2 separate regions of the Homo sapiens genome follow, and region 1 is linked to region 2. The links are contacts of gene promoters, found by promoter capture Hi-C in blood cells and fetal thymus (Javierre and others, 2016). All regions are on one chromosome and are shown on one strand. The core of a region is centred on a gene start or on the middle of the fragment in contact, and the rest is flanking DNA. Distances in the headings are between cores, read along the strand shown. Region 1 overlaps SLC22A23 (solute carrier family 22 member 23). Region 2 holds the start of FAM50B (family with sequence similarity 50 member B).

Region 1 (4,282 bases), core at 401-2,900, 550 kb before region 2:
AGCAGAGTGTGATGACTTAATTAGGGAAATGCCACAAACAAATTGTACTGTAAGCCTAAGAGCATTAACCTGCTAACGAGTGAGGTCTGGGGAAATCTGGGAAAGCCATCTGGACCGTCCAAAACGAGCAAGCATGGCCCCGCTGGAGAAACCTGGATTGAGTACTCACTACTCAGCGCAGGGAAGTTTGTATCTATCCAGAGCTCTCCCTCATGTTAGAGCAGCGTGGCAAAGCCACCCCTGCTGGACTTTGCACCCCTGCTGGACAAGTCCTCGCTCAACTTCTTAGCAGCTGTGTGACCTCTGGAAGCTGCTTAGCCTCTCTGTGCTCCCGTTTCCTCATCGGCAAACGGGGCTAATTATAGTGCCTCTCTCATAGGCTGTCATGGAGAAATAATACACGTGAAGCACTTGGGGGCTAAATATTAAATATGAATTAATATTTGCAAATCACTTAGAAAAGGAGCTGAAATGTGAGTGCCATGTGAGTGTCATCGTGTTTCTCGTCACTGTCCCTGGATAAAAAGGGACCACAGATGCACCAGCACTCAGCACCCTTCATGTCAACCAGACCTGGCTCATGTCCTTCTTCTGTCCAGCGAAGCAAAAGCTTCAGGCGTCCCTGGGTAGGCCCCACCCCACCCAGCACGTGGTCCAGCCTGGGTGACCTGACTCTCACGGCCCTGCACAAGTTGAGGCAGAGGGTGACATCCTGGCTGAGCTACGGCAGCACCAAGGAGCTTCTAGTGACCTAGTGTCCCCGATCTTCTGAACTGGGAGTCTAACGAGAGGCCTGTCCAGGTACCAAGGGCTTCTCTGATTTGGGGTTCCCGTGCATCCCTTCCCATCGTAAATGGATACCTGCAGGGCACATTCTCCCACCTCACTCAGGCCCCTGCACCTGTGCCCCTGGAGCAAAGCTTCCGCAGCCACTCTGACTGTAGTCCCTCCCTGCCACCCTCTATCCCACAGCCCTGCTGTTTCATCCCTCCTGACGTATGCACGTGTAACTTCCCTGTCTGTGTGCCCCACCTGCCTGCAAGTTACGTGAGAGCAAGGCTTTGCCTGTGTCTTCTCTGCTCTAGAATAGCGCCTGAAACACAGCAGGCATCTAGTAAACACGTGTTGGTTTACTGAATGAATCATGATCACAAGCATTTCTGGTCAGGGGGGAAAATGAGCATATTCTCTCTTGGACGATGGCCTGGAGGTTATTTTCCCAGGGAATTTTATAGCAACAATTTATCCCAGGTCTTCAGTGAGGGCAGTGAGTCAGAGCTTGGGCCGAGACCACCAGTGATCTTCAAACGGAAATCTGTATACCACTTGCATCAGAATCTCTTCTAGTGCTTATTAGAAATGCAAGTTCTCAGGGCTTATCCCAAATCTAACAGGTCAGGATCTCCAGGTGCCAGGGAGAGGCCCAGGAATCTGGATTTTAACAACCTCCTGGTGATACGTGGATCCCCAGGTTGAGAACCCCCACCTAGCTGTGGTAACGCTCCTGACACGCAGGAATTCTATGGATCTGAACGACTATCCAAAAACACTTCACCTTTCCTGTCTTCAGCTGCCCAACAAATAGGTCATGGCCAGGTAAAGACAATGGTGGCTCTCTGAAGGTCATGCTCAGGAAAGCTGAGGTCACAGGGGCCATCTACACCCTGAGCCAGCGCTCTGGCAGTGTTTAGACCTGGCAGGCAGGTAGGCTATGGGCCAGACAGCCAGATATTCCCTTGAGCAGTGTATATTGGGCTCATGGCTCGCTTCTGCATTTAGACAGGAGATGAGCAGATCCAGAGTGTGCTGGACTTGATCATGAAAGAAACCAACACCTAGAAAATGGAGAGAATGTCAAGGTTGCCACATTGCCCTTGTGCAGGCCAAAAGGTCACAGGAGAATTGCACAGCTGGTTAAAACAGCTGTTTGTGCAACAAAACCAGCCCAGGTGTCAGGGACCTGCCCCGTGGAGCCTCTCTGAGCCCTGCCAGCCCGCGGTGTGCTCACCTGGTATCACACCCTTGATGTCGCCCTCAGGGTTCATGCGATTCTTCTGTGTGAAGTGGAGGATCAGCCTCTTTGCAGACTCAAACTGCTGGGTGGCCATTAGCCACCGGAGGGACTCGGGGAATATCCTTTAAAGACACAAAGGGGATCAGTGAATGTCTTCCGATTCTGCACGGCACCGGGAAGTGTGGCTTAGGTGTGGCCCGGGAGCTTCCCAGGCAGGTGGCGGTCAGTCTCCAGACACGCATCAGCCCAATCAGGGGAGATAAAACTGTGGGCACTGAAACGTTCCCAGTTTTCTTTTCCAAAGAGTAAAAATCAAGACCTTAAAAATGCTTAACAAAAGTTAACCACATGTTCTCACCCACGTATGGAAGCTTAAAAAAAAAGTGATCTCATAGAAGTAAAAAGAAGAACAGAGGATACTAGAGGCTGGGAAGGGTGGGGGGAAACTGGGGATAGGGAGAGGTTGGTTGAAGGATACAAAATTATAGCTAGGTAGGAGGAACAAGTTCTAATGTTCTACGCCACTGTAGGATGACCATAGCTACTAATAATATACAGTTTCACATAGCTAGGAGGAGGATGTTAAATGTTCCCGGCCGGGCGCGGTGGCTCACGCCTGTAATCCCAGCACTTTGGGAGGCCGAGGCGGGTGGATCATGAGGTCAGGAGATCGAGACCATCCTGGCTAACAAGGTGAAACCCCGTCTCTACTAAAAATACAAAAAATTAGCCGGGCGCAGTGGCGGGCGCCTGTAGTCCCAGCTACTCGGGAGGCTGAGGCAGGAGAATGGTGTGAACCCGGGAAGCGGAGCTTGCAGTGAGCCGAGATTGCGCCACTGCAGTCCGCAGTCCGGCCTGGGCGACAGAGCGAGACTCCGTCTCAAAAAAAAAAAAAAAAAATGTTCCCAACACACAAAAAAGTGATATTTGCGATGATGGGCATGCTAATTACCCTGATCTGATCATTTTACATTCTATGTACTGCACCATCACTGTGTACCCCATAAATATGTACGATTACTATGTGTCAATTACAAAAATAAAAAAATAATTTAACAAATGTAACAGAGTAGCGGATATGAACAACATTCTACCAGCTGTGTCAAGAAATCAGTGTATACCTTTCAAAGTAACCATAGATTTCTAAAGCATGGAGAAACAATTCACGGAAGCCTGCTGATTTTGTTGTATTTTGTCACAATAAATAGTAATAGAATGATTTTACGTTTAAAAAATTACTTCCAAATATGACCAACCTGCAGTTATTTTCAGTTTCGGAACCTGAAGGCTCACTGTCCCGGGGTTTCCTTCAGAGCTATTTCCACGTTACTGCTAACCGCCTGTCACTGTCCCTCAGACGATGCCACAACGCAGTGGTTTTCGAGTTTTACCAAAGCGACAGAATCTTTTTCTTTTTTTAAAAGATGGAATCTTGTGAGGAGCCCCAATACAAAAAAACTAGTGTTTTATTATCAATTAATTTTATAAATTTACATTTATGACAATATTTACAAGCTGCTCAAAGAGAACACCGTGACTGCGCAGAGCAGGAGTTGGCACGCTATCTCTGCAAAAGTCCAAGTCATCAATATTTTAGACTTTGAGGGTGAAATGGTCTCTCCTCATCTTGGCCTTGTGGCCTGAGTGTGGATGTATGGGAGTGGGTGTGGCTATGGGCTAATAATACTTTATTGCAAAACAGGCAGCTGACCCTTGACTGTTTGGGAGAGACAAAAAGTAGAAATCAAAGCTCAAGATGACAGTCCTAGCTTCTTGTAGCCCTCAGTGTTCTAGTTATCACTCCACTTTATTTTAGTTAAATTGTATCAGGAAAGTCACGACTGATGCTGGTAAGAAGTTATTGTAAGTACCGAACACCTGCTTTGCAAGCTCAGGATAGACTTTTTTTTTTTTTTTTTTTTTTTTTTTTTTGAGATGGAGTCTTGCTCTGTCACCCAGGCTGGAGTGCAGTGGTGTGATCTCAGCTCACTGCAACCTCCACCTGCTGGGTTCAAGCGATTCTCCTGCCTCAGCCTCCCTAGTAGCTGGGATTACAGGAATGTACCACCATGCTTGGCTAATTTTTGTATTTTTAGTACAGATGGGGTTTCACCATGTTGGTCAGGCTGGTCTCGAACGCCTGACCTCGTGATCCGCCTGCCTCGGCCTCCCAAAATGCTGGGATTACAGGCATGAGCCACCGTGCCCGGACTCAGGAGAGTTTTAAAATGAATCTAGCAGCTAGAAAAAGTATTAATGGTGTTTCCC
Region 2 (4,654 bases), core at 2,036-4,535:
GAGACCTTAGAGGACAAACAAAGAGATTCTGATGTGGCTGTTACAAGGGAAGTTGGAGTTTTTCAAGTAGGAGAGTAATGTTATCAGATTCATTTTTTATGAAGATCTCTGAGGATATTGTATAGAAGTTAGACAAGAACAAGAATACAGGCATACCTCGGAGATACTGTGGGTTCAGTTCCAGACCACCACAAAGACAGTCACACAAATTTTTAAATTTTCTAGTGCATATAAAAGTTATGTTTATACTATACTATAGTCTAGTAAGTGTGCAGTAGCATTTTGTCTAAGAAAATAATGTGCATAATTTCATTAAAAATACTTAATTGCTAAATAATGCTAATGATCCTCTGAGCATTCAGTGAGCTGTGCTCTATTTGCTGGTGGAGGGTCTTGCCTCAGTGTTGATGGTTGCTGACTGATCAGGGTGGTGGTTGCCAAAGGCTGGGCCTGTGGCAGTTTCTTAAATCAATATTGAGTTTGTCACATTGATTGATTCTACCTTTCACGAAAGATTTCTTTGTAACATGTAATGCTGTTTGAATCAACTTCTTCCAAACTTCTGTTAATGTTGATATTTTACCTCCTCCCAAAAACTGTGAATGTCCTTCATGGCACCTACAGTGGTGAATGCCTTCCAGAAAAATTTCAATTTACTTTGCCCAGATCCATCAGAGAAATCATTACATACAGCAGCTATAACCTTTGGAAATGTATTTCTTAAATAATAAGACTTAAAAGTCAAAATTACTCCTTGATCTATGGGTTGCAGAATGGATGTTGTGTTAGCAAGCATGAAATCAACTTTAATCTCCTTGAGCATCTCCATCAAGCTCTTAGGTGACCAAGTGCATTGTTAATGAGTAATAATATCTTGAAAGGAATAATCAGAGCAGTAAGTCTCAACACTGGGCTTAAAAATATTCAGTAAACCATGCTGTAAACAGATGTGCTGTCCTCCAGGTTTTGTTGTTCCATTTACAGAGCACAGGCACAGTAGATTTAGCATAATTTTTAAGGGCACTAAGATTTTCAGAATGGTAAGTGAGCATTGGCTTCAACTGAAAGTCTCCAGCTACACTAGCCCCTAGCAAGAGAGTCAACCTGTCCTTTGAAGCCATGAAGCCAGGCATTGACTTCTCCTCTCTAGATATAAAAGTCCTAAATGGCATCTTCTTCCAATAGAAGGCTATTTTGTCTACATTGAAAATGTATTGTTTAGGGTAGCCTCCGTCATCAGTGCTCTTAGCTAGATCTTCTGGATAACCTGCTGCAGCTTCTCCATCACACTTGCTGCTTCACCTTGCACTTTATGTTATAGAGGTGACTTCCTTCCTCAGCCTCATGAACCAACCTCTGCTACCTTCAGACTTTTCTTCTGAAGCTTCCTCACCTCTCTCAGCTTCACAGAATTGAAGAGACTTAGGGCCTTGCCCTGGATTAGGCTTTGGTTTAAGGGAATGTCGTGGCTGGTTTGATCTTCTATCCAGACCACTAGAACTTTCTCCATATAAGCAATAAGGCTGTTTTGCTTTCTTATCATTCATATGTTTACCAGGAAAGCGCTTTCAGTTTCATTCAAGATTTTTTTCCTTTGCATTCACAACTTAGCTAACTGTTTGGCAAAAGAGGCCTAGCTTTTGGCCTATCCTGGCTTTTGACATACTTTCCTCACTGAGCTGAATCATTTCTAGCCTTTGATTTAAAGTGAGAGACGTGTGACACTTCTTTTCACTTGAACACTTAGAGGCCATTGTAGGGTTATTAATTGGCCTAATTTCAATATTGCTGTGTCTCAGGCACTAGGGAAGCCTAGGGACAGGAAGAGAGATGAAGGAACAGCCAGTCAGTGGAGCAGTCAGAACATACATAACATTTATCAGTTAAATCAATAAACGTCTTTGTCTTCTACTGCACACTTCGGAGTGCCCCCAAACAATTACAATAACCTCACAGAACGATGATCACAGATCACCATAGCAGATATCACAATGAAAAAGTCTGAAATATTGCAAGAATTACCAAAATGTGACACAGGAACACGAAGTGAGCACATGCTGCTGGAAAAATGGAGCCAGTAGGCGCTTGACGCTGTGTTGCCACAAATCTTCAATTTGTAAAAACAAAAACAAAACACACAGTATCCCAGAGCTCAATAAAATAAGATATTCTTGTATTCTGGTGATGGGGCAACAATGAGAAGGCTTTAGATTAAAAAAAATGCTAATTTCCTAGATTAAGGCAAGTGGTGGGGAATGGGAGAAAAAGGAAAGTGTGAAAGGCTCTTCTGTAATTGATTACCTGTGGAGGAACGTCATTCCAGGAAAAGGCCTAGGTTTCTGGCTTGGACAATTTGATGAGGGCTCACACCGTGCTGTTCTCCTCTGGATATGTGGGTGCCATATGTAATTATCATATGATTCACGCTTCTTGGTAAGGTTATGCTCACAGGCATTGTTGCTCTTAGGCGGGAGGAGGCTGAACCGCAGTATGTATTTCACAACCAGCTTTTCCAAACTAGGTCCCAGGAAGCACTGGTTTCGGCGAGTGTTACCAGATCTCCTGCAGGGGAGAAACGGTCACGAAACATGAACTGGTCTGCCCTGCTCTTGGAGAGTTACAGTGGAAACTGGCATGTTAGAGGCTCACAGTAAAGACACTGCTACACTTTAACTCAGTGTCCCATGGTTATTAGAGCTTAGAACCCGGGGGAAACTGCTGTATAGAAGAGGTCAAACAAGCTGAGTGCAGGTTTTGTCACGAAACTGGGGGGCGAGTAGGGTTCTATTATCAAAGAATGGTTGTGTTGGGGCCATAAGAAAGAATTACAGGCAGTGGTGCGCAGGTAATGTTCACGAGACGCCACAGCGGGGTAGCATCAGAGGCGGGAGGAGGAGGGTTGGAGAGCAGGGCCGTGTTGCAAGGCTCTCTGGGTGGCCACAGCAGCTTGCGCTGCGCCCACATTGCTTCTGCGTGTTTACAGTTGGGCACGAGAAGGCTCAGCACGCACGCACAGCAGGTGGGGGCCCGCCCTGCCCACAGCGTGAAAACAGGAGCCCCGGCCAGCCACGGCTGGGCAGGGCCAGAAGCGCCTCCTCCAGGATCCTCCCCGCGCTGGCCCGCCCCACAGGAGCACCGCCCCTACCAGGAGCCCGGAGCTCTTCCCAGGGCCCGCCTCCCCGCCAGGGGGCGATCCACCTCCACTTCCTGTTTCCGCAGCCGCCCTACCAGGAGCCTGGCACTCTCCTCAGGGCCCGCCTCCCCGCCAGGGGGCGCACCGCCTCCACTTCCTGTGTCCACGGCTGTCGCGAGAGCCCGGGGCGAGTGGGCCTCTGCTCGTGGGTGGTTCTCGTGGAGGTCAGCTCCCGCGTGTCTCCGCTCGACAGGGTGCTTGGGCAGGTAAGGGTCCGCTCAGTAGCCCAACCCTCTCTGTATGCAGCTCCCCAAATTCAGCGCTGCGCTCAGGCATGGCAGCCACCCGTTACGTGGGGCCGTTCGCATTTGCATTTATTGAGGTCAAATAAAATGCTGGAAATTGGTGCCTGGTGACACTGTCAGGTTGGTGGTTACCCTAGCAGGTCGGCCCAGCCCCTGAACGCTTCCATCACTGCCGAAAGCCCTGTGAGGAGGCGCAGAGCTGAGCATTCCCCGCCGTTGCGTGGGCCCCCCTCTACCTGCCGCGTTTTTCCTCTTTGCTGCAGAGCCCATCGGGTAGGCGCGGGCCATGGCGCAGTACAAGGGCACCATGCGCGAGGCAGGCCGTGCCATGCACCTCCTCAAGAAGCGCGAAAGGCAGCGGGAGCAGATGGAGGTGCTGAAGCAGCGCATCGCCGAGGAGACCATCCTCAAGTCGCAGGTGGACAAGAGGTTCTCGGCGCATTACGACGCCGTGGAGGCCGAGCTGAAGTCCAGCACGGTGGGCCTGGTGACCCTGAACGACATGAAGGCCCGGCAGGAGGCCCTGGTCAGGGAGCGCGAGCGGCAGCTGGCCAAGCGCCAGCACCTGGAGGAGCAGCGGCTGCAGCAGGAGCGGCAGCGGGAGCAGGAGCAGCGGCGCGAGCGCAAGCGTAAGATCTCCTGCCTGTCCTTTGCACTAGACGACCTCGATGACCAGGCCGACGCGGCCGAGGCCAGGCGCGCCGGAAACCTGGGCAAGAACCCCGACGTGGACACCAGCTTCCTGCCAGACCGCGACCGCGAGGAGGAGGAGAACCGGCTCCGAGAGGAGCTGCGCCAAGAGTGGGAGGCGCAGCGCGAGAAAGTGAAGGACGAGGAGATGGAGGTCACCTTCAGCTACTGGGACGGCTCGGGCCACCGGCGCACGGTGCGGGTGCGCAAGGGCAACACGGTGCAGCAGTTCCTGAAGAAGGCGCTGCAGGGGCTGCGCAAGGACTTCCTGGAGCTGCGCTCCGCCGGCGTGGAGCAGCTCATGTTCATCAAGGAGGACCTCATCCTGCCGCACTACCACACCTTCTACGACTTCATCATCGCCAGGGCGAGGGGCAAGAGCGGGCCGCTCTTCAGCTTCGATGTGCACGATGACGTGCGCCTGCTCAGCGACGCCACCATGGAGAAGGACGAGTCGCACGCGGGCAAGGTGGTGCTGCGCAGCTGGTACGAGAAGAACAAGCACATCTTCCCCGCCAGCCGCTGG

What was found. The method cuts DNA at HindIII sites, captures the fragments that hold promoters and counts their contacts. A CHiCAGO score of 5 or more calls a contact.
Region 1: a contact is called between a fragment that was not itself captured here and the fragment with the promoter of FAM50B in region 2, in 1 of 17 cell types (M2 macrophages). The highest score is 6.2, in M2 macrophages.

The regions. Positions count from the first base shown.
Region 1 is chr6:3,296,083-3,300,364 of GRCh38, forward strand. It overlaps SLC22A23 (solute carrier family 22 member 23), which reads right to left. Exons shown (of 10, transcript NM_015482.2): 5 at 2,009-2,136. Among named protein-coding and RNA genes, the nearest start is that of PSMG4, 39 kb to the left of the region's middle. RefSeq lists an enhancer at 623-1,123. The HindIII fragment of the contact is 1,465 bases long and covers 919-2,383 here.
Region 2 is chr6:3,846,088-3,850,741 of GRCh38, forward strand. FAM50B (family with sequence similarity 50 member B) reads left to right here and starts at 3,286. Exons shown (of 2, transcript NM_012135.3): 1 at 3,286-3,399; 2 at 3,702-4,654. The coding sequence starts at 3,725. LOC107986557 (a long non-coding RNA gene) reads right to left here and starts at 3,279. Exons shown (of 3, transcript XR_001743931.2): 1 at 3,229-3,279; 2 at 2,302-2,562; 3 at 1-5. RefSeq lists a silencer at 2,960-3,079 and an enhancer at 3,350-3,469. The HindIII fragment of the contact is 3,705 bases long and covers 1,383-4,654 here.